7 separate regions of the Homo sapiens genome follow, and regions 2, 3, 4, 5, 6 and 7 are each linked to region 1. Evidence: promoter capture Hi-C in 16 types of primary human blood cells and fetal thymus (Javierre and others, 2016). All regions are on one chromosome and are shown on one strand. Each heading gives the region's core, a stretch centred on a gene start or on the middle of the fragment in contact. The rest is flanking DNA. Distances are from core to core; before and after follow the strand shown.

Region 1 (3,149 bases), core at 479-2,978:
CTATAAAAAAGCAGTATAAAGGGTGCCTGAAATCGAACTGCTCACTGACATTTGTAGGGAGGTTTGATTTATAACAAATAAGTTGATCAAAGAAGAGTGATTGTTCCAAGTTAGAGATCTTTGTGTGGGTTAGGGAGTCCGATTGTAATTGGATGGGAAATAAATATTTTTTTTCTTGAATTGTGATTGGCTAAAATCCTTTTCTTTCCATGGTATTTTCTAATAACTGAATCTGGGGATTTTCTCTGCTTTTATTATCTGACCAGTGTGTTTGAGCTGTGTACCAGTACTAAAAGTACTAAGACTGTCGCAGACACGGTTTGTGAAATTTCAGGACGTTGACAAGGGCCCGCCACGGAGCATTTGCTGTTCTTATAATAAAGCAGTGACGAATTTAAATCTGTGAATAGCTTAAACATGTAATTAGTATCACCACAAATGAGAAGAATGAAAGGATCACATTTTCCCCCTCGTTTTCCCTTGAAGTCATGAACGGTTGGTTCTGCTGTGACTTTGGGGCTTAGTTTTCAGTAGAAGTGTTGTCCTGCTCTGCTGCTGTTACTGCGGGACTGCTAATTCAGGCTAACTCAGGCGGCGGGCGCTGTGTGCTCTGAACATCAAACCGCGGGTGAGGCGTCAACCCAGGAGTTTATTTTGTGATCAGAGTGGAACCACTACACTTCACTTTCCCCTCACCTCCACCTCTGAGGGAGCAACGAATACAAAGGTAGACCCCCAAAAGCTTTGAATAGCTGTCGCCTACTTTCCCGCGGCCCTCTTCATTTTTTCGTCTCCCGCTGCCGCCGCCGCCGCCGCCTCTGGATCTGGACGGACCCAGTGGCCGCTGCCGCCTCCGCAGGGCCGGGCACTACTTTCCGTCTGCGGTGGTTCCGCCGACCCTCCCGCGGCTGCTGCCCCGCCCGCGCCGGCGGAAGGAGACGCGCTGCGCGCCGCCGCTGCCCGGGGAGGGAGACGGAGCAGTACTGGCCGCGGCGCGGTGGCGGCGGCTGGGCTGCCTCGGGGTCTTCGACGGCCGCGTTGGGTTTTGTTTCAGTTTTCTTGTGTGGCGCTGCAGCACAAGGCTGCGAATCTGGGAGTCCAAAGGAGTGTTTGCGGGGAGGGCCCGAGGTCGCTGTGTCCGGGGCAGAGCGGCCGGTTCGTCCCGAGTCTGCGCTCTTTCGGGTCCGCTGCTGTGTCCCGGTCCGCTCTCCTCAGCATGAGCGGCCGGTAGGAGTGAGGTTTCATCGGTTCCCTCGCACTGGAGGAGGCAGCGGCCGCTTCGGCAGCGACAGCTATGGCGGTAGAGACGCGGGCAGAGCTGGTGGGTAAGCGGTTCCTGTGTGTGGCGGTCGGCGACGAGGCACGTTCGGAGCGCTGGGAGAGCGGACGCGGCTGGCGAAGCTGGCGAGCGGGGGTCATCCGAGCCGTGTCACACAGGGACAGCCGCAATCCGGACCTGGCGGTAAGAGAGTCAGCGCCCCCCTTTTCCCCTGCCGCGCCCGCACCCGGCTCTCGCAGACGTACCTTGCAGGCTTCCCTCTGGCGCCTCGCTCAGCCCGGCCAACTGGCGGTCACGCCCCTCTGCTGAACCCTTGGCGCGTTTGCCCGCATCCCTTGCCTGGGTCCCTGCGTCTCTCCGAGCGGCTTCCCCTGTGGAGGTGGTGTCGGAGCAGGACTCCCGGGATAGCCGCGGAGGCTGCCCTGGCCCCCATCCCGGAGGGGTCGACCGCGGCTCCCCGCTGTGGCGCCTGGGCGGCCACGGAGACCTCCCCGAAAGGCGGAGCCGCGAGTCCGGCGCCGCGCGGGCAGGTGGGGGTAGGGGGCGGACCACTCATGGCGACAGGCGGCCAGCTTCCCTGGTATCTCTTTTCTTGGAAAAGTCTTCATAGTGCTGTAGCTCGAGACTTAAAACTTATCCTGTAAGGTTGCTGAAGGGGAGGGAGAAAAGAAAAGAGACCTTCCCACACAGTCCGGGGATTCCTATGTGTTTTAGAGGCAGAGGCCGTGGTGGTGGCTGTGCCCGGATTCATCCTCTCCTTAATAGATGCTTGGCTTTCTAACCGTAAAGGATAAAAGTGAAAAATTTTGGTATGGAGGGTAATCTCTCTTTCTGTCCCCAATGTGCTTTTCTTGTTAGAAAGGTATAGTTCTTTGGAGTCAAGCTGTTTCTGGGTTTTATACGATTTTAAATAAGACGAAAAATGTTGTCAATTAAAATGTTAAATGCCATGCAGAATTGATTATCTTTTTTTTTTTTTGGTTTCTTACATGTGACGCTGCCAGTGCTTTCTTTGAGTAGCGTAGGTATGTGCATGATATTGAGCTGTAATATGCTCTGTTGTGTTCCAAGTACATTCTCACTGAGGGACAGCTTGAAGGTAAGGGGCGGAGTAGAGACAAGACATGGACTAGACTTCCAAAGGTTGATTTATGAATACGTAATCTGTGAAATTTATTTGTAATGCCCTGAGCCATTTACTTTTTCAATGAAAACTTCAAATTTAGGAAATTTTTTTCCCTTTGTGTGCATGAAAGCTTACAATTCCAAATTCATTGTAATATTTGTACAGGTATCTACCTAATATTTTTTACCTACCTATTTTAATAGTTTCTGAGTGTGTTTTTGTAAACTCGGGTTTTCCTCACTGTAGTCAATGATATGGTTAATGCGGCATGTATTAATATTGACTCGATATCGCAAAATAGGTGTGTTTTGCTGATAGGTATTTCTAACAGAAAATAGAGGTAGTTTTGAAGGTTTTGGCTGGTTATTTTCGTATAGAAATGTATAATCTTCCTTAAAAAGTATTGGTGATGTTAGTGGTTCTAAAAATTATGGCAGTTCAATTCAGTAACTATTTTTGTTTGTGTAAAAGGCTGAGGTAAGAGGATTGCTAGAGCCCAGGACTTATTAAGAGTCCAGCCTGGGCAACATAGGTGAGACCCCCTCATCTGTAAAAAAGGAAAAAAAAAATTTGTATATATAAATAACTTAATTGCTCTCTTAGTTGGGAATTTAAGTGATTAAAGAGTTAAGTTTGCATATGTTAGTAAGGTATTAAGCTGGATATTAAAAAATAAATTATCTATGGATGGTAGAGATTGACTGGAAAGAATAGGAGTTTCTTCAGGTGATAGAAATGTTTCCT
Region 2 (3,149 bases), core at 484-2,983, 310 kb after region 1:
CCACAGTCCACCAGATGAAGCATTTCCGGGATTACCCTTCTATGTGGTTTTCCCTTTTCATTTCTTTTTGCTGGATTAACGATTACTGTATTATTTCCTCTTTTCCCCTTTTCTGTGGCCTTCCATTTTAATTATTCATAAATCCTTTCAGAATATCCTCAGAGAGCTCCATAAGAGGAAGTTCTGGAGATGGAAAATCCAAGGGAGGAAGATTGGGGATTGGAATGTCCTTGGCTTTCCCAGTATTTGCTGCGAACTTCTGCCAGGTTGAGGAGGCTGTAGCAGTTTCTGCATGTGGTGGCAAGCTCCATAACTCTGACGTTTCTACAAAATCAGCATCTACATCCAGCTCCTTTTCTATTGGACCTTTTAGAAGTCTGGCCTTTTCAGCCTTTAGTTGTTTATTTTCTTTCCTTAATCTTTCATTCTCAGCCACAAGGAATTCCACATGCCTCTTCAAATCTGCAATTTTGGTTGCCTGCTCCTCTATAATTGTTTTATCATCTTTTGGGGCTTTGCTTCCAATACATGGCTCTGCTGGCTCACTCTTTTGCTGAAGTAAATAAAGTAGTGTGTCTGGATCCCTGTCAAAGATCCCCTGAATCTCAGGCAGGCATTTCTCTGTGGAAGGGCTGTACTTCTGAGAAAGGGGACTCTGGCCCTCTGCATCCTCTGCAGAGGGTTTGTGAGATGTCTGAAGATGGGCAGCTGCATCCTTGTCTGTGTTCTGCTGGGCTTTCAATCTTTCTTCACGCTGGGCCCTTTTCCATCTCTCTTGGATGAGGAGGAGCTGTTTCATATGGCTATCCCTTTGCAATTCCAGTGAAAGATGAGCCTATTACATAGAAGGAAAGATAAAATTGGAAGAATATTTTAAGTATCTTAGTAATGTCCAACATACACTATTCAAAATCCTTTGTGAATAACCCAACACTTACAATTTACAATTTACTATGTTTGCAAAAATACCATTCAGAAAGTCAGAAGTCCTATTCCCAATCAATACACTAAATTGGATGTTTTCCTCAATGTGCCTGACCCCATGTGTAATGTCATTTGTACTCAAAATTAGAAATCTTTCCTCTGTAGACATATTAATTCTACCAACAGCTAAAAAGAAAGTCTTCCTATCAACCGCGTGTTTGGATAACTCAATGCATGCCTGTATCATGAGCAGATTCTATACTTTCAAAGGCAGTGAAAGGGATAGAACACAACTTTAAAGTTCCCTTGGTTCAGTTTGAGAAACTAGTGGCTTTCCCTGCCACTGATATACCTCACAGAAATGATCTCTTTAACTAATACTTTTATAACAAAAAGTTTTTAAAAAGATATTTTATATATATTTATTTTAGAGACAGGGTCCCTGTTGCTGAGGCTGAAGTGCAATGGCGCAGTCATAGCTCACTGCAGCCTTGGACTCAGGTGTTCAGTGATCCTCTCACCTCAACCTCCCAAGTAGCTAGAACTACAGGCATGTGCCACCACGCCCAGCTAATTTTTTAAGTTTTTGTAGAGATGGGGTCTCACTGTGTTGCCAAGGCTGGTCTCGAACTCCTGGGCTCAAGTGATCCCCCTGCCTTGGCCTCCCAAAGTGCTGGGATTACAGGCATGGGCCACCATGCCCAGTCTTATGAATAAATGTATCTTGAAACACTTGGCAGGGCCTCCCCAAACACAGAAGACAATTTAAAGCAATTGGTGAAACAAATTTAAAAGTGCCTGAACTGCTTAAGAATTCAAGCAAAGACAAGTGGGAGACTGGTCAGATTTAAATTATCTTTGACAAGCAAAGGGTGGTCCAACTAGTTTCCTCTTGGCCAGGCCTGTTTACTGACTGTAAGCTAATGATCAAATAAGAGCTAATGATTAGGAATGGTCCGAAGAGGGCTCTCTAAAAGGTACATCTGGCTGGCAATCTGAGATCTGTGAGTAACCACTAGAAAAAAAGAAGTTTCTGCATTCCATGTCTGGGGCATCGACTGCAGTTCATTTAGTTTTAATTTCCGTTGTGAAGTGCTCTTCCCTTGCCCATTTTATATATTTTTGACTATAGCATTTTGAGAGGGACACAATGCTTTGCTTTACACACAATTCAAGCCTCCACAAGAAAACCTTTCTAACCCTTGTCGCAAATATTGGGAATATGTCTCACCTGCTCTGACTGTGTCAGCTTCATGGCTTCAGAAAGATATGCTGTTAAGAGAAAAAATAGGCATGTTAATATGTGTCTTCATTTTGTAATTAACAGGTAAAAGGAAGAGTTTTAATAATCTTCATATGACAAAGAGAACTGGTCTGATAACTCTGATACAATTGGGGATTTTTTAAAAGAATTCTTAACTTCCCCCAAAAGGATGTCAGTGGCAATAAAATGAAAATATTCCCTACCCTATCTTGAAGGTTTTGTTATTTAAAACTCCTACAGATTTTATAATTCAGAAACTGAAGATGGTCTAATCAGAAAAATAGGTTTAGGAAAGATAAAAATCAAACAAGAACCTATCCAAACCCTATTACTCATCATACTCACAAAAATATCATGAGATTATCAATGACTTTTTATCCGTCTGAATACCTGGAATCTATCATTTTGGACTCCTATAGAATCACTTTTAATGAATTGTCTCTGAGTTAAACCATCAGCCTTATGGTTAAAAGCCCTAAGAACTTGTTGACATATTTACTGCGAGGAAGTTACTGAGGACAGTATAATGTCATTTATGAAGACCTTCAATAAACTTCTCTCTGATCTTAGATCCTCGGTGACTATTTGTTTGAATTTTAATAGCCAATGTAAAAATTATTATCTTTCCTCTTTAGGATGACTGCTAGAAAACTTAAGTCAAGTTCTTAAAAAAATATGCAAGAACTAATGGTACATTTTGTGAACTACACTACTAGTCCTTTCTCATTTTCTCTATGGATGTCCTTATCTATGTATCTTTAATTACATTCGATATTTTATTGTACATTCATCTGTAAGACATTTTATAACCTTTCGGGAACAAGGTTAGGTATAAATAAGTTCTCTATTATCAATGAATTGTCCATAATGAATCTCCATTTTTATCTTGCTTGTTATAAACATTTTTGGCATCTCTCATACCTACATTAAGTTCCTCTTTTGCCCTTTTGCAGATACTACG
Region 3 (3,149 bases), core at 360-2,859, 310 kb before region 1:
TCTCAAAAGCTTCACGTGCTCCACATTAGGTAAACAGGGACCACAGGAGTCATAACACCACAGGAATACTGGTTTATTAAAGAGGAAATTAGATTCAATTCCAGGATATGCCATTAAGTGTCTGGGTGACCTTGGGCAAGTCACTCAACCTCCCTGAACACCAGTTTCCTTTGTGTGAAATAAAAAGATTGGACAAAATAACCACTGAGGTCTCTTTAACATACTATAAGTCACATTTTGTTCTGTCTTTTCTTTTGATGACATCTTTTTGCTTCTCTTTTCCAAAACGTCAGTTCCCAAATTAAAAGGTGCAAAGTTTCATAAACTTCTCATAAATGACATTCATTCAATCCCTCCAAGGTTATTCTCTCTTATGTCCCACACTCTAGGATAGTTAGAGATACTCTGATCTCTGTTACACTTATTTCTACACATCACTTCAGTCCACAAAGGATTTGAGCCTGTCTAATTTCACTTCCAAAAATTTCAAATTCTCTTGCATGCATACTGTGCACAATATTATTTTAAGACTAAACCCTTTTCCAAAATGTGCTTAACAATGTTTACTTGGGTTTTTTCTCCATTAAAAGAGGAGAGTGACATATGTATAAAGAAGGATGCAAAATGAATGCAGACTGGATACGGGTGAGTTCCAGCCAACTGCCACCCTTTCTCCTGGCTTGATGGCTAATCACCAAAATACATTCCTGAGCTGTTCTCTCTCCTCATACATTCATTTAAGAATGAATTCACTTCTGTTTCAAGTTGTCCCATTTGGGAAAATCTAGATTGCATCAACAACAGCTTGAAAAAAGAATTGAGAGGAGTAGAAAGGCAAGAAAGAAGTCCTACAAATTAAAATAATCTTTTTAAGGTCTAAGGCAAGAAAGAAGTCCTACAAATTAAAATAATCTTTTTAAGGTCTAAGTCAAGAAAGAAAGCTCTGGCTCTCAGTGTACAGTCAGTCTATGCAAGGAAGTCTTTTTTGTATTTAGTAACCAAACATTTTAATAACATTAATTTGCTGTTAGTATGTAGAGCAACATCAAACTCCACAGTTGACATCTTTCTACTGACACAACCAACCACAAATCCTGGCTGGATTGTTAGCACAGTCCTGGACTGACATGTGCCTCATAGACCTGCCATGTTTTAGCTGGAATTCTCTCAGTACAGATGAGACTTATGTTTTGCAGAATTTTAAAAATAGAAAGACCCCAGGTTTTAATGGGTCTCCACTATACCAGCATCAATATTTTACATGATATTTCTTAAATATATATTCTTATAACATTTTAAATAATGAAGACTGCAAAGCTAGATATTTGGAAAAACAATATTTGGACCAATCAGGGCCTGAACCAAAGTGGAACCCAAGGGTCAAAATGAATCCCACTGATTTGATTCATTCATTTATTCAACAAACACATATCAAGCAACATCTCTTGGCAACTATTCTAGGCACTGTAGGGGATCTATAAAGCTCACAATGATCACACCCCAGGCCAAGCATGAGCCTATAATCCCAGGGTTTTAGGAGGCTGAGGTGGAAGGATCACTTGAGGCCGAGAGTTTGAGATCAGCCTGAGCAACACGGCAAGACCCTGTCTCTAAAAAAATTTTAAATTAGCCAGGTGTGGTGGCATACTGCTGTAGTCCCAGCTACTCAGAAGGCTGAGATGGGAGGATTGCTTGAGGCCAGGAGTTCAAGACTGCAGTGAGTAGTGAGCCATGATCACGCCACTGCACTCCAGCTGGGGCAACAGAGAGAGACCCAATCTAACCAAAAAAAAAAAAAAAAAAATGATTACACCCCAGAGCAGAGTGAAAAGTGGTACTACTGGAGAGGCATAAAGACAGTGCTCTATTCCCTCTGACAAGCCTATTAAAAAAGGACCTGATAACCTGAGAAATAGAAGTAAGTTCTAACTTCCTTCAGCCCCTACTAAGGTCAGGGCAGAGCAGGACATATGTAAACTCTGACCCAAAAACATACAATATTAGGGGTCACTGGTATCCTCCCAGAGGGATGCCAACATAGGTATCTGGCTAGAGGGGAAAGCTGAGCCTGCCTCAGGGAACAGGGCCTCTAGAAGTGGGGCCAGCCTCTCAGCTGTTCAGCCTTCACCTACCATGGAATCCCAGACACCAGGAAAAAATGATACCTTAGAGAAGAAGCCATTATAGACTAGAGGGGAATAGAAAAACAAGAATGAAGACCGATAAATTAAAACAATCTTTCCTCAACCCAAGACAGGAAAGGCTCATCTGGAGGAGGAAGGCTCTCTGATGGGTAGGAGAAGAAGGAGAATTATCAAAGTGAGCCCACCTCCTAGAACATTCTGCTTTGAACTGTGGGAAGAGATAAAGATAGAGAGAAGAATAGCTCAAGTGCTGATGAGTGACCAGGAGATTAAACAGCCTGAGGAACTGATGACAGGAAGTGGATTTTAAAGTAAAGACGATATAATTGAGCACACAGGCTCACTTGCCCTCAAACACACTAGAAAGAGTCAATTCAGTCTAAAGCCAAGTCTACCCAAGATCCCACTAGTCGCTCTTGCGAAAAATTCTGCCCCAGAGTTTCTTCTCCAGGCAGATCAGATGTGTGCCTCACAGGTAGGCAGCAGGAAGAAGGAGTTTCAACAGGTTATGAAGGGGGCGCCAAAAATCCAGCCTGTAGAACCTGTAAGTACAGAAGTCTCACACAAGAAAGGAAGACTAGAAGAAGTCAGGAGTGAATAGATTCACCAGCTGGGCGTTTGGGTTGTGAACGTCAGACGCTGAAGAGCTGGAAGAGAACAGAGAAGCCAGAGGTGGAGGCCCAAAGCTATCAGACATTGGGCAGAATTAACATTGAAAATGAAGGCAAGGCTTCGAAATACCATAAAATCATAGACCTACAGTAAGGGCCAATATCCCAGGGAACCTTCAGTGTTCAACTGAAACCACCAAATGGATCCATGACTATCTTGTCTAGCAAAGCAGATAACATCAGTCCCCATAGGACATAATCCCTGCATTTATGCTATCTTTGATTCAATCCCATCCTCCCTGGGTGTCTACCAGAAACATCTGAAACCCTTGTCAAAGTAAAATTCTCAAAAAGTTAAAAACATGATTCTCATACAAATATAAAATGAACATGA
Region 4 (3,149 bases), core at 441-2,940, 290 kb before region 1:
AAGAACAGAGTAACGAAGGCACAGATTTATGAAGAGGCGGAAGTACAATTACAAAATGGGAGCGAGCTCAAGCAAGCGGCTGGAGAGCCTCTTCTGTTGCAAGGCTCCCCAGGATTTGTATAAAGCCAAAAGAATTTGGTAACACCCCTAAGTGCCCTTTAGGGGCCTCCAATTGGTGATATCCTATAAAGGATTGGCCTGCGACCAATCAGAGGCTGAAGTGGAGACTTCCGTCTTATCACAGGGGTGAAGATGAGGCCTGTGTGCTGCCCAATCTTGCCTAGAACTGGCTGCACCTGCTGTTCTCTTGCTTATGCCCCAGCCCTTGGCTACCCTAATTCCCCATTCTCCTGCCTCATTACCATGAACAATATGAATTAAATGTTTTTAAGCTTTCATGGTCAAGGTTTTAAATCTTTTGCATTTCATATCATTTCTAAATTAATCTCTTTTAAATTAAGAGATAGTTTATTGACACTTCCTGAGCTCTCTGAGCAAATTATAAGAATGTGTGCAGTCACCATGGTTTTTTTACCTGACTGTAATAAGGCTTAATATTGTTTTGAAAAATGTATCTGCATTTGTCCTACTTACATTCATTGTGCTAACAGAAATACCCTACATGAATTCTGTTTCCAAAGTTAATTTGGCAAACATCTGCTGCAAGAAAATGGTCCAGATGGTTTCTGACATGTAGTGATAATAAATAAGTGGTCCTTTTCACATATTGCATGGTATTTGCTGTAGTTTTCTATTAAAAGGATGTGGTTTTTAAGGGACAAAAAAAAAAATCACTTAATTTCATGGCAACTCAAGGCACATGGAAACATATGTGACTCATGTGTCTAAATGCCAGGCCACTCTTTATAGATTCCAGTGGGGTCACATTGCCAGGAATATGTCATATGTTACTGACCCATGTTGCTTTCTGATATTTTAATATCACTTGCCACATGCTTTACATGTATTATCTTACTTAATCTTTTCAACTGTCCTACATAGGTATTATCATTATATCTATTTTCTTTCTTTTTTTTTTTTTTTTTTGAGTTGGAGTTTCACTCTTGTTGTTGCCCAGGCTGGAGTGCAATGGCACCATCTCAGCTCACTGCAACCTCTGCCTCCCAGGTTCAAGCAACTCTCCTGCCTTGGCCTCCGGAGTAGCTGGGATTACAGGTGCCTGCCACCACGCCCAGGTAATTTTTTGTGTTTTTAGTAGAGACGGAGTTTCACCATGTTGGCCAGGCTGGTCTCGAACTCCTGACCTCAAGTGATCCACCGGCCTCGGCCTCCCAAAGTGCTGGGATTACAGGTGTGAGCCACCGTGCCCGGCCCATTATCTCTGTTTTCTAGATGAAGAAATAGTCCAAGGGTTTTAGTAAGCGGTAGAGCACCTGACACCAAAGCCCCGTGTTCCTAATATCCACACACCCTCCACCCCAATAGTTTCTAGGCCGTGCTACCTTGTTGCATTGCCACTGGACAAACTCCTGGGTAAGGCTTATTGGCCGAGTCTTCTTCACCTGCAAAATTGCACAAAGACACCTTGCCACACCTCTGAAGCCCACTGTCAGTCCTTTCCCCTGAAAGTGGCACATTTGTTGCCCACCCTCCAAGTTGTCAAACACTGAAGCCACAGAGAGAATGACACAGATGGGGAAAGGCCTCTCTCACTCCACCCAGTGTCCCTCATTAACATCCAAATGGCAGTTTATCACATATCTCACAGAGCGCCTTCTGAAACACCTTCATCTCTGCTTGCCATCCCTCTCTCCATAGGCCAGACCAGGGGACCAAATCTGAGACAGACTCTCTGCATTGCCCTCCCCAAGGGGATAAGACTTTTATTCTCCTTTTGTCAAAACCTACTAGCAACCTGATTTCTACAAACTGAGTGGGGTTAGGAGGGAGGTGAGCACTAAGATATCACAAGAAATGTAACCAGATAAGAGAATAGGGCTGTGTTTACTGAAATTCCTTGCATGAAGAGCATGTCTTGTGGTGGGAAGGAATACATTAGTAAGTCACTTGGAGATTGATATGGTTTGGCTGTGTGTCCCCACCCAAATCTCATCTCGAATTATAATCCCCACATGTCAAGGGAGGCAGGTAATTGGATCATGGGGGCAGTTTCCCCCATGCTGTTCTTATGATAGTGAGTTCTCACAAGATCTGATGGTTTTATAAGCATTTGGAAGTTCCTCCTTTGCTCCTCTCTCTCACCTGCCACCATGTAAGATGTGCCAACTTCCCCTTCTGCCATGATTGTAAGTTTCCTGAGGCCTCCCCACCTAGACAGAATTGTGAGTCAATTAAATCTATTTCCTTTATAAATTACCTAGTCTTGGGTATATCTTTATAGCAGTGTGAAAATGGACTAGTAAGATTCCATGTGAGTGTGTAAAGGTAGAAGCAAGTGGTCACTAAACTGCCTGTTAAGCAGAGCAAGTCTAGTTCACGTCTAAATTTGATTTGTTGGGAAAGTTGAACAAGTTTGAGGCCAGAGTGGAAGTACTCTTGATAACAGACAAGAGTCTGAGTGGGTGGCTCTGCCTCTCCCACAAAGAGTGTTTAATCTTTCCCCTACTGAAGAGATCTTGGACAAATACTTAAAAGAATAGGGCTGTGAAGAAGCACTAAATTGAGAGCTTGAAACTGCCTTACAACTCTGCCCTATCAGTTTCAGCACTTGGTACAACCTGGCGGCTGCTACAGTTCCTGCCTCCCATATAACTGCTTGTGGAAATTTTTAATTTTTCTTTCTTTTTTTGAGATATTGCCCAGGCTGGTCCTGAACTCCTGGGATCAGGCAATCCTCCCTCCTTGGCCTCCCAAAGTTCTGGGATTACAGGCATCAGCTACCACATCCAGGCTGATTTTCTTAAATTTAACTAATTTTTGATGTCAATATTTGTAGCACCTGCTTTAAGTAGAGCCCTAGGCTATTGGTGTTGTGAGAACATAAGAAAAATATCAGAGGAAGCTTTAAATGAACAAGCAAAACTATTGCAAAGCACTTAAATAATATTCACTACCTTAAATAACATTAGTGAGCACTTAAAGTAAGTCTGGTACTGTGCTAAGTGCTTTGCATGCATTATCTCATGTAATACACATATACACACAATACCTTGAGGTCGGTACCAGTA
Region 5 (3,149 bases), core at 347-2,846, 280 kb after region 1:
AAGCTATGTAAAAATGAGTAAGAACCATTTTAGTGCAATGCTGCTTGATCTTTTTAGGTTACTAATCCCTTTCAAAATCTGATGAAAGCTGAATCTTTCACCCCAAAAAAAGAAATGCACACTTGTGCATTGCATATACACAAGATTTAGCATGTCTTTTTTGCCTTGGTCTCCTTCAAGCCCTGATGACATTACTGGACTGAAATTTTATTTAATTTGTGTGAGCTTTTGAGGTAGAAAAGCGTCACACAAATAATTGTTTTCATAATTATGTGAAGTGTTTTAAGAACTTTGTTCAAGGTGCTATGAGAACCCAGAAAAGGAAATGTCAAAGCTAGGATACTAGTTCAAAAAGGCTAGTCTAAATTGATTCCTTAGAGGTTAAGTGAAGTTTTTTGCTAGGTGGACAAGAGGCTGGACATATACAAGAACATTAGGTGTTTTGGGAACTCTCTGAGTAGGTGTGATTATCTGCAATATACATGATGGTTCATGGGGGAGAGTGGTGTAAGGAGATGGCTAGAGGAATGATCATGAAATGCCCTTATATATCATGCTAAGGAGTTTTAACATTATACTCTAGGTGATAGTTTTAATTGTGGAATCTGTATAATCAAATTGACATTTTATAATAACTGACAGCAAGGCAGATTAGAAGTTGAGTTAGAAGAGAATAATACCATTGGCAAGGAGTCTAATCAGAAAGCTTTACAGGCCTGGTGCTGTGGCTCTTGCCTATAATCCCAACATTTTGGGAGGCCAAGGTGGGACGATTGATCGCTTCAGCCCAGGAGTTGGAGACCAGCCTGGGCAACATAGTGAGACCCTGTTTCTACCAAAAAATTTTAATTAGCCAGACGTGGTGGTTCACACCAGTAGTCCCAGCTACTTGGGAGGCTGAGGCAGGAAGATTGCTTTAGCCCAGTAAGTCCAGGCTGTGGTGAGCCATGATCATGCCACTGCACTTCAGCCTGGGCAACAAAGTGAAACCCTGTCTCCAAAAAAAGTAAAAAGATCATGGTGATAGCCTAAGATTTCTGCTTTGAATTATTCTGATACACTAATTAGCTTAACCCTTATCTTTTTTAAAAAATTTACTTTTAACAAGCTGCTGATTACCCTAATAGCAGCAATATTATTGGATAGATACTAGGCACTAGGAATTAATCTGTGAATTGCCAGCAAGAGTTAACTAATACCTGGACCTATTTTTAAAGTCGTATATATTATTGGCTCATTGAAAAAATGTTTAATGGAACATTCAACCATGTAGTAAACCAGAATTTAGGGTGTTTTTTCTTTTTAAAGATGTCTTTTGTAATTAAAAAAAAAATCTAGCTAGAGATTATTCTTTTGTGGTTCCTATATTTTAATTATGTTACAAGTTTAAGAATACTAATAATCACTTAAATTTTTTGTTTGTTTGTTTCTGGAGACAGGGTTTTGCTGTGTCTCCTAGGCAAGATACAAACTCGGGCTCAAGCAATCCTCCCAGCTCAGCCTTGGGAGCTGGGACTACAAGAATGCATTGCTACACCCAGCCTAGTAAATATCATTTTTCAGAAACTTTTAAGTCATAGCTTACTGTGTTCTCTATATTCCAGAATTCTGCTTCATTAGAGTACAGGAATTTGTTTAAAACCTGAGAATAATACATCAGATGTTCTTAGATATGTTTTTATATCATTTATTGTAGTTTTAGAAGCTGTAAATCTTCCATTACTGGTTTCTGCGTTATTAGAAAGCTATTAGGGAATTTGGGTGGAGAGGACATCTACCCTCCGCCACCAAGTGTAAGAAAGCTGTGAGGGAATTTGAATTTATGTAATTTCAAAGGAGACATTCACTTTCAGAGAATAACTCATTAGGCTCGAAATTTAATAGTTTCAGCTACTGAAGAGGCTGAGGTAGAAGGATTGATTGAGCCCAAAGGGTGACAGTCAGGTATGATGAGGCCACTGCTCTCCAGCCTGGGTAAGAGAGCAAGACTCTGTCTCAAACAAACAAACAAACAAACAAAAAAGAAAGTCTATATATCTTTTAACTGTTATTTATTTATCTATTTATAAGCCTGCAGTGGTTTCTGGTGTGCATAAGAAAATGAACATTAGCCTATGGAAGGCGGAATCAATTAGTCTTGATTTTGGAGACCACCAAGCTGATCTCCTGAACTGCAAAGATAGCATCATTTCAAATGCCAATGTTAAGGAATTCTGGGATGGTTTTGAAGAAGTTTCAAGTATGTTGGTTTTTATTTTACTATTTTCTCCATCATACTCCTTCAAAATGATAAATTCCAAATGTAACTTAACAGATTTTTAGTCTTTGAAACATCTGTTTTATGTTGTCTAATAAAAAGAAACAAGTAATTGGAAACAAAATACTGGGTCCTAATCCCTATTTCTAGCACTAATTTCCTTTGACCTTAAAGATGCCGTTTATACTGTTTTGCTTATGGAGAAATGTTTGGCAGTTCCATAAGCTTTTGAAAATGGAATTATTTATGTAAAACTCTTTGAAAATTAAAAGTGTAGATGTAAGATTGTGATGTTACCAAGATTTTTAAAAACAACTTTTGAGATATTACAAGTGGGTAATTTAATGAATTCTATTCATGTACAAAAGGAACAAAGGTTTTAATACTACATAAGTACATAAGTAATAAGTCAATAAGCAAGCAATCATTAAGCATGTAATGTGCAACAATCAAATCATTCATTCATTTACGTTTCTTTCCAAATGTTAATAAAGATAAAAAGGCAGAAATTACCCTTTTAGTAATTAACTGCATTCCTTATAGAACGGCAGAAAAACAAGAGTGGAGAAACAGTTGTTTTAAAATTGAAAGACTGGCCTTCAGGAGAAGACTTCAAGACTATGATGCCAGCAAGGTTTGAAACTTTTCATTTTGACTCTTGACTTTTTGAGATCGAGCTAAGACTGTCCCCAGAGATAGGATAAGTAACCGTAAATGTGACCTGTAGGCTTTTTCTTTCTCAATTAAAAATAAATAACTTGAGGCTGAGCGTCATAGTGGCTCACGCCTATAATCCCAGCACTTTGGGAGGCCAAGGCGAGGGGATCGCTGGAGTCCAAGACTTGGAGATCAGTCTGGCCAACATGACAAAACCTTATCTCTACAAAAAAAT
Region 6 (3,149 bases), core at 206-2,705, 260 kb after region 1:
AGAAGCCGGAGAAACTGGAAGAATCATTTTGCCAAATGTGAATTCAGACAGTGTTCACACAAAATCTGAAAAAAACTTTCAGGCTGTCTCACAGGGCAGTGTTCCCAGTTCAGTCATGTCTGCTGTAAATACGATGTGTAATACCAAAACGGATGTAATCACATCTGCTGCCGATACTACCAGTGTTTCCAGCTGGGGTGGTTCAGAAGTAATTTCCTCTTTATCAAATACCATTTTGGCCTCTACATCATCAGAATGTGTATCTTCAAAAAGTGTCAGTCAGCCAGTGGCTCAAAAACAAGAATGCAAGGTCAGCACCACAGCACCAGTTACATTAGCCAGTAGTAAGACAGGAAGTGTTGTTCAACCCAGTTCTGGGTTCTCAGGCACAACTGATTTTATCCATTTAAAAAAGCACAAGGCAGCATTGGCTGCAGCTCAGTATAAAAGTAGTAATGCCAGTGAGACTGAACCTAATGCTATAAAAAATCAGACACTTTCAGCCTCCCTTCCTCTGGATAGCACTGTAATCTGTAGTACAATTAACAAAGCAAACTCTGTAGGAAATGGGCAAGCTTCCCAGACAAGTCAACCAAACTACCATACTAAACTGAAAAAGGCCTGGCTCACCAGACACTCAGAAGAAGATAAAAATACTAATAAAATGGAAAATTCAGGGAATTCTGTATCAGAAATTATTAAGCCATGTTCTGTCAACTTAATAGCCTCTACATCTAGTGATATACAAAATAGTGTAGATAGTAAGATCATAGTTGATAAATATGTAAAAGATGATAAAGTCAACAGGAGAAAAGCCAAAAGAACTTATGAATCTGGCTCTGAAAGTGGAGACTCAGATGAAAGTGAAAGCAAGTCAGAGCAAAGGACTAAAAGACAACCTAAGCCAACTTACAAAAAGAAGCAAAATGATTTGCAAAAGAGAAAAGGTGAAATAGAAGAAGATTTGAAACCCAATGGAGTTCTCAGCAGGAGTGCCAAAGAAAGAAGTAAACTGAAGTTGCAAAGCAACAGTAATAGTAAGTCAGTTACTTTGTTTTATCTCAGGTAAAATGGGCTGAATGTTTTAGCTATACTAGTGTGCTGCTTTAAAGATCAGTGAGCTTAAAGGCATCCTTTGTCTTCATTTGCGTGCCTTAGCTTTATGTATATGCTCATTGATCTCATTTCTACATTTCACAAGTAAGTACCCTTTAAGAGGAAATGAGAGAACACTTATTCCTCTATTTTTAAAAGACTTGTAGAAATATATATCTTACCTGACAGTCATTGTAGGTAATTTGCGTAATTTAACGTGGAATTTAGTAGTTACTCGTAATTTTGGCCATTTCTAAGAATTGTCAAAATGCAGTTATGGCTGTCACACCAAAAGTGGATTTGTAATATCAGCTAAGATATTTACCTCTAACAAGATGTAGTCAGGAAAGAAATTCTGCTCACATACACATATTTTGAGGCAAATTTCTAGAAGATAGTTACAGTTGTCCCTGGGTATACCTGTGGGGGATTGGTTCCAGGACGCCCCCACGGATACCAAAATTCACAGATGTGCACATCCCTTATATAAAATAGCATAGTACAGTCATGTGCTGCATAACAACTTTTCAGTCAGTGACAGAATGCACAGCTGGGCACAGTGGCTCACTCCTGTAATCCCAGCACTTTGGGAAGCTGAGGCAGGAGGATCACTTGAGCTGGCGTGGTTGAAGCTGCAGTGAGCCATGATTGCACCACCGCACTCCAGCCTGGGCAACAGAGCAAGACCATGTCTCAAAAAATAAACAAAAAATGATGGAATGTATATATGACAGTGGTCTCATATAAGATCGTAAGACTGTGTTTTTACTATACCTCTTTCTTTGTTCAGATACGTAAATACTTTGTGTTACAATTATCTACAGTATAAAGTACAGTAAATACTGTACGGGTTTGTAAGCTAGGTTTGTGTAAGTACATGCTATGAAGTTCCTACAGTGAGGAAATTGCCTAATAGTGTATGACTATATTTGCATGTAACCTACACACATCCTCCCATATACTTTAAATCATTTCTAGATTCCTTATAATGCCCAACACAACGCTTACACATCACTTCATTTATGCAGGATTGAACATAGTACTCTGCACATGGCAAATTAAAGTTTTGTTTTTTTGGAACTTTGTAGAATATTTTTTCCCCCAAGTATTTTTGATCCATGGTAGGTTGAACCCATGGGTTTGGAACCCACGGTTATGGAGGGCCAATTTTACTTCAGAGTAATATGAATGTGGACTGTATTTCACTCTTATATCATCTGGTGACAAAATTGGAAGCTTATGGAAATTACTATCTATTTAATGCTGCTCATTCAAACAGTCCTTAACAATAGGTAAAAATTAACATAAGGGGAGGCTTGTGGTTTTGTGTATTCATTTCGATGTTAAAGAATTGCCATATTAATAGCTTCACAACTGATTATATATCCTTTGTGGCAACAGCTGGACAAAATAAGAGATACTTAACAGTAATATTCACTATAAAGTGTTTCTATATCATTTTACTCTAGTAGTAGTTTTTCTCAGTTTGCTTATTTCTTTTTAGGTATGTTGCACAATGCAGAAAGCACTTAGTTTCACTATGTCCGTGTGTTCATCCACATACAATATATGAAATATCTGTGACAATGTGGACACTCAAAGTACTTTCACAAGCACTTGGATGCTTGAAGGCTCCCATTTGTGCCTTTTAACTGAATGAGGTTTTCCCACATGCCTGTGTGGAAACCAGAGGCAAAGTGAAGGAGAGGAAAACAGGAGGATGGAATCATAGAAAAGGACAGTCAGAAAGTGAAAGAACAAAGGACAAACTCAACTAGAGCCAGAGACTGACAGACTGAAATGCAAGCATAGTCAGAAGACAGAGAGGGGGATTAACATCGAAGGATACCTGCCATTTACTTGAATATTGGATTATATACAGTGTTGCTTTTTCTTATGTGTTCCCCTTACTCTCCCTCACTACCCCCATGAATTCATAATAGGCTTAGTGTGAGCAATTTAATTGTTTCTCTTCTGTCTTATATGACATTTCCTTTGGTGTTGGGTGTTCAGATACTTGAGTAAAACTTAAAAAACAAAAACAAAAGATAGGT
Region 7 (3,149 bases), core at 396-2,895, 260 kb before region 1:
AGCTATGGTTGCCCAAGCTCAGGCCGAGGGTGAGGTGCAGCCCCATGTTAAACTCTCAAAATGTCGCCTTGGACCAGGAGCCAGAGAGGGCGTGCACCACCCAGGCAAGCAGTATGGGCAAGAAGCTGTGGGGAGTGCAGTGTGATCACGTCTCAGTCTCACAGCAGCTCATTACAGGGCAGTGGGTATTGTCCTAGATAGGCGTAGAATGGCCTGGATTCCCTGTCAATCCCTGCCCAGGCTGGCAGCATGGGGGAGGGCAGTTCACTCGTGTCTCAGTCTCCACAGCAGCTTATAGCAGAGTGGCAAGCACCTTCCCGAGGGTGCATGGGAGCGCCCAGTCTTGCCTCTTCCTCCTTGGAGCAGCTGCAGCTGTGTCTGTAGATCCCTGGTATCTGGGCTCTCAAAGTGGCTCCCAGCTGAGACTGCTCCAGGCTCAGATGCCCGTGGGATTCTGTGTGGGTTCCCTTTCTGGAGCAAGATTCCTGTGCAATCTTTAGGCAGCTCCGTATGTCAGGCATGAGGCCCCAGTGGGTCAGGGGTTCCTCCCATAGCCAAGATCGTAAAAACCCATTTTGGAGCTCTGGGGATTTCTCTCTCACTGTTTCCCCAAGGCCAGAAACCTCTCAGCTCTCAGTCAGCTCTCAGCTGAGCAAGCTGCCTCGAACCCTCTCCTCAATTACTTCTGGCACTTATCATCTCTTCTCCGATGAATTCAAGTGTTCCCTTATAGACAGTTATTCTGAAGGCTGAGAAGTCTAAAACTAAGGTGCTGGCAGATCTGGTGTCTGATGACAGCCTGCATCCTGGTTTGCAGACGGCTATCTTCTTGTATCCTAACATGATTAAGAACAGAGAGAATGGCCTTCTCTTATTATCTTTGAAATTCAGCTAAGACCCTGAAGCCAAAGAGACCCACTAGGTACATTTCTGCAGAATTTTATTTTAAAATGCCCAAGCTCATCCTTAAAATACCAAACTTCAAAACGAAACACAGAAAATAACAAGTGTTGGTGAGGATGTGGAGAAAATGCCAAAAGACAGGCAATAATAAATAAATAAAAATAAATAAATAAAACTTCATTAATTACCTTCAGCCAATTTAAGAGAAGGCTATACATTCATTATGGGGTGCTTTGTTTTTTGTTTTTTGTTGTTTTTGAGACACAGTCTCGCTCTGTTGCCCAGGCTAGAGTGCAGTGGCACGATCTTGGCTCACTGCAACCTCCGCCTCCTGGGTTCAAGTGATTCTCCTGCCTCAGCCTCCCGAGTAGCTGGGATTACAGGTGCCTACCTCCACACCTGGCTAATTTTTTATTTTTAGTAGACACAGGGTTTCACCATGTTGGCCAGGCTGGTCTCAAACTCCTGATCTCCGGTGATCCACCCACCTTGGCCTCCCAAAGTGCTGGGATTCCAGGCGTGCGTCTCTCTGCCCGGCCTATGAGGTGCTTTGAAAGGCATTTTTAGAACTAGAAAAGCTTTGGCTTTTTCCCTCCCTCCCTACTGCTAAGCCAAGTGAAGGAGTCCAAGCAAATCAGTCACAGGGACCAGAAATGCCTACGAGAAAGATTTGTATCTCACTTCCTGGCTGGATGTTTACAGAGCCCTGACATCACAGGCCCTGGTGCTGCTTCCAGACCATAGAGAACAACAAGTGTTCTTAGGAGAGCCAAAGAGCATCCACAGGCATTTGCTGGCATCTTTGCCTGGTTTCCATCCATCTCAAGAACGCTGAAGGCAAGAGACTGGCTGGAGCAGCATGCAATTACAGGGTGGGAGAGAGGGCTGATTAGATGGTTAAGCTTTAGGGAGGAAAAGGATGGACAGTGTTTTCCCATTGACCAAGGGAACCTGAAGAGAGTAGCAAGACATGCATCATCTGGAACAGACCCTGACCAAAAGAACTACTGCCTGAAGCCAGGGGTCCCCAGCAGGAAGAAGCTGTGTAGAGTGAAGCCCAGAACATGTGGGGCAAAAGCTGAGAGAAGATTTTCAGAAGCAACTGGAGAATGACCAGAATAGGAGGAACCCCCTGCATCCCCACAGGGTGCCCTGGAGAAGCTCTATGTGAATTCTCAGATTAACAGAGGGAATGAGTCCCAGCCAGTATTATCCATGAGAGAATCACATACAATACCAGCTAAGTACAGTGACACTTTGCTCCTCTTTCTCTGATCTGCATGCTGGATTCTATACTAGAGGAATTAGAAAGCAGGAAAGAGATGAGAAATAGTCAGAAAAACACTGAAAGAACAGTCATGCTCTCCTTCCTCAGAGTCAGAAGTAAGAAGAGTTAAGGAGAGAAGATTCAAGCTATATATGAGATTGGACTAAGTTTTTTTTTGGCTGGGGAGGGCGTTGTTTTGTTTTGTTTTTTTAATACAGGGTCTCACTCTGTCACCCAGGCTGGAGGACAGTGGTGCACTCATAGCTCATTGTAACCTCAATCTCCTGAGCTCAAGTGATCCTCCCACCTCAGCCTCCTAAGTAGCTGGGACTATAGGCATGCACCATCACACCCAGCTAATTTTTTTTTTTAATACAGACAGGGTCTTGCTAGGTTGCTCAGGCTGGTCTCAAACTCCTGGCCTCAAGTGATCCTCCCACTCAGCCTCCCAAAGTAGTGGAGTTACAGGCGTGACCCACCATGCCCAGCCCAGACTAACATTTTTAATACCTGAAAACAGGGGCTAGGCACAGTGGCTCATGCCTGCAATCTCAGCACTTTGGGAGGCCCAGGCAGGAGCCCAGGAATTCAAGACCAGCCTGGGCAACATAGTGGGACCTCATGTGTACCAAATACACACACACACACACACACACACACACACACACACACACACACACACAATTAGCCAGGTATGGTGCATATTCCTGTAGTCCCAGTTGCTCCGGAGACTGAGATTGAGGATCACTTGAGCCCAGGAGGTTAAGGCTGCAGTGAGGCAACAGAGTGAAACCATGTATTAAAAATAAGAAACCATGTATTAAAAATAAGAAACAAACAAACAAGGACTCTTGTTACAGCTGAATGTGAGCCAAAAGCTATGAAATCTACCAGAGATTGAAGTTACAGAGCACAGAAGGGAGATTTAGCATAGTATGGTTGAAAGCAACCAAGGGAGAAAAAGTTGTTTCCCATTTGT

The links. Contacts are between HindIII fragments. The CHiCAGO score rates a contact against its expected background, and 5 or more counts as called.
Region 2: a fragment that was not itself captured here is called in contact with the fragment with the promoter of JMJD1C-AS1 in region 1 in 1 of 17 cell types (neutrophils); the score reaches 7.0 in neutrophils.
Region 3: a fragment that was not itself captured here is called in contact with the fragment with the promoter of JMJD1C-AS1 in region 1 in 1 of 17 cell types (endothelial precursors); the score reaches 6.1 in endothelial precursors.
Region 4: a contact is called between a fragment that was not itself captured here and the fragment with the promoter of JMJD1C-AS1 in region 1, in 1 of 17 cell types (endothelial precursors). The highest score is 5.1, in endothelial precursors.
Region 5: a fragment that was not itself captured here is called in contact with the fragment with the promoter of JMJD1C-AS1 in region 1 in 10 of 17 cell types (M2 macrophages, endothelial precursors, M0 macrophages and 7 more); the score reaches 8.6 in M2 macrophages.
Region 6: a fragment that was not itself captured here is called in contact with the fragment with the promoter of JMJD1C-AS1 in region 1 in 17 of 17 cell types (endothelial precursors, activated CD4 T cells, erythroblasts and 14 more); the score reaches 20.9 in endothelial precursors.
Region 7: a fragment that was not itself captured here is called in contact with the fragment with the promoter of JMJD1C-AS1 in region 1 in 5 of 17 cell types (endothelial precursors, monocytes, M1 macrophages and 2 more); the score reaches 10.8 in endothelial precursors.

What each region holds. Positions count from the first base shown.
Region 1 is chr10:63,463,808-63,466,956 of GRCh38, reverse strand. JMJD1C-AS1 (JMJD1C antisense RNA 1) reads right to left here and starts at 1,728. Exons shown (of 1, transcript NR_027182.1): 1 at 394-1,728. It overlaps JMJD1C (jumonji domain containing 1C), which reads left to right and starts at 980. Exons shown (of 26, transcript NM_032776.3): 1 at 980-1,462. The coding sequence starts at 1,295. RefSeq lists enhancers at 518-567, 1,018-1,187, 1,268-1,337, 959-1,748 and silencers at 838-987, 1,528-1,867. The HindIII fragment of the contact is 1,793 bases long and covers 745-2,537 here.
Region 2 is chr10:63,151,197-63,154,345 of GRCh38, reverse strand. NRBF2 (nuclear receptor binding factor 2) reads right to left here. Exons shown (of 4, transcript NM_030759.5): 3 at 2,156-2,196; 4 at 1-835. The coding sequence ends at 128. Among named protein-coding and RNA genes, the nearest start is that of NRBF2, 19 kb to the right of the region's middle. The HindIII fragment of the contact is 5,670 bases long and covers 1-3,149 here.
Region 3 is chr10:63,770,223-63,773,371 of GRCh38, reverse strand. No RefSeq gene overlaps it. Among named protein-coding and RNA genes, the nearest start is that of REEP3, 250 kb to the right of the region's middle. The HindIII fragment of the contact is 3,195 bases long and covers 12-3,149 here.
Region 4 is chr10:63,749,562-63,752,710 of GRCh38, reverse strand. No RefSeq gene overlaps it. Among named protein-coding and RNA genes, the nearest start is that of REEP3, 230 kb to the right of the region's middle. The HindIII fragment of the contact is 2,591 bases long and covers 395-2,985 here.
Region 5 is chr10:63,185,305-63,188,453 of GRCh38, reverse strand. JMJD1C (jumonji domain containing 1C) reads left to right here. Exons shown (of 26, transcript NM_032776.3): 19 at 2,071-2,239; 20 at 2,801-2,891. Among named protein-coding and RNA genes, the nearest start is that of NRBF2, 54 kb to the right of the region's middle. The HindIII fragment of the contact is 1,776 bases long and covers 709-2,484 here.
Region 6 is chr10:63,204,483-63,207,631 of GRCh38, reverse strand. JMJD1C (jumonji domain containing 1C) reads left to right here. Exons shown (of 26, transcript NM_032776.3): 10 at 1-1,037. Among named protein-coding and RNA genes, the nearest start is that of NRBF2, 73 kb to the right of the region's middle. RefSeq lists a silencer at 1,057-1,257. The HindIII fragment of the contact is 1,756 bases long and covers 578-2,333 here.
Region 7 is chr10:63,721,172-63,724,320 of GRCh38, reverse strand. No RefSeq gene overlaps it. Among named protein-coding and RNA genes, the nearest start is that of REEP3, 200 kb to the right of the region's middle. The HindIII fragment of the contact is 324 bases long and covers 1,484-1,807 here.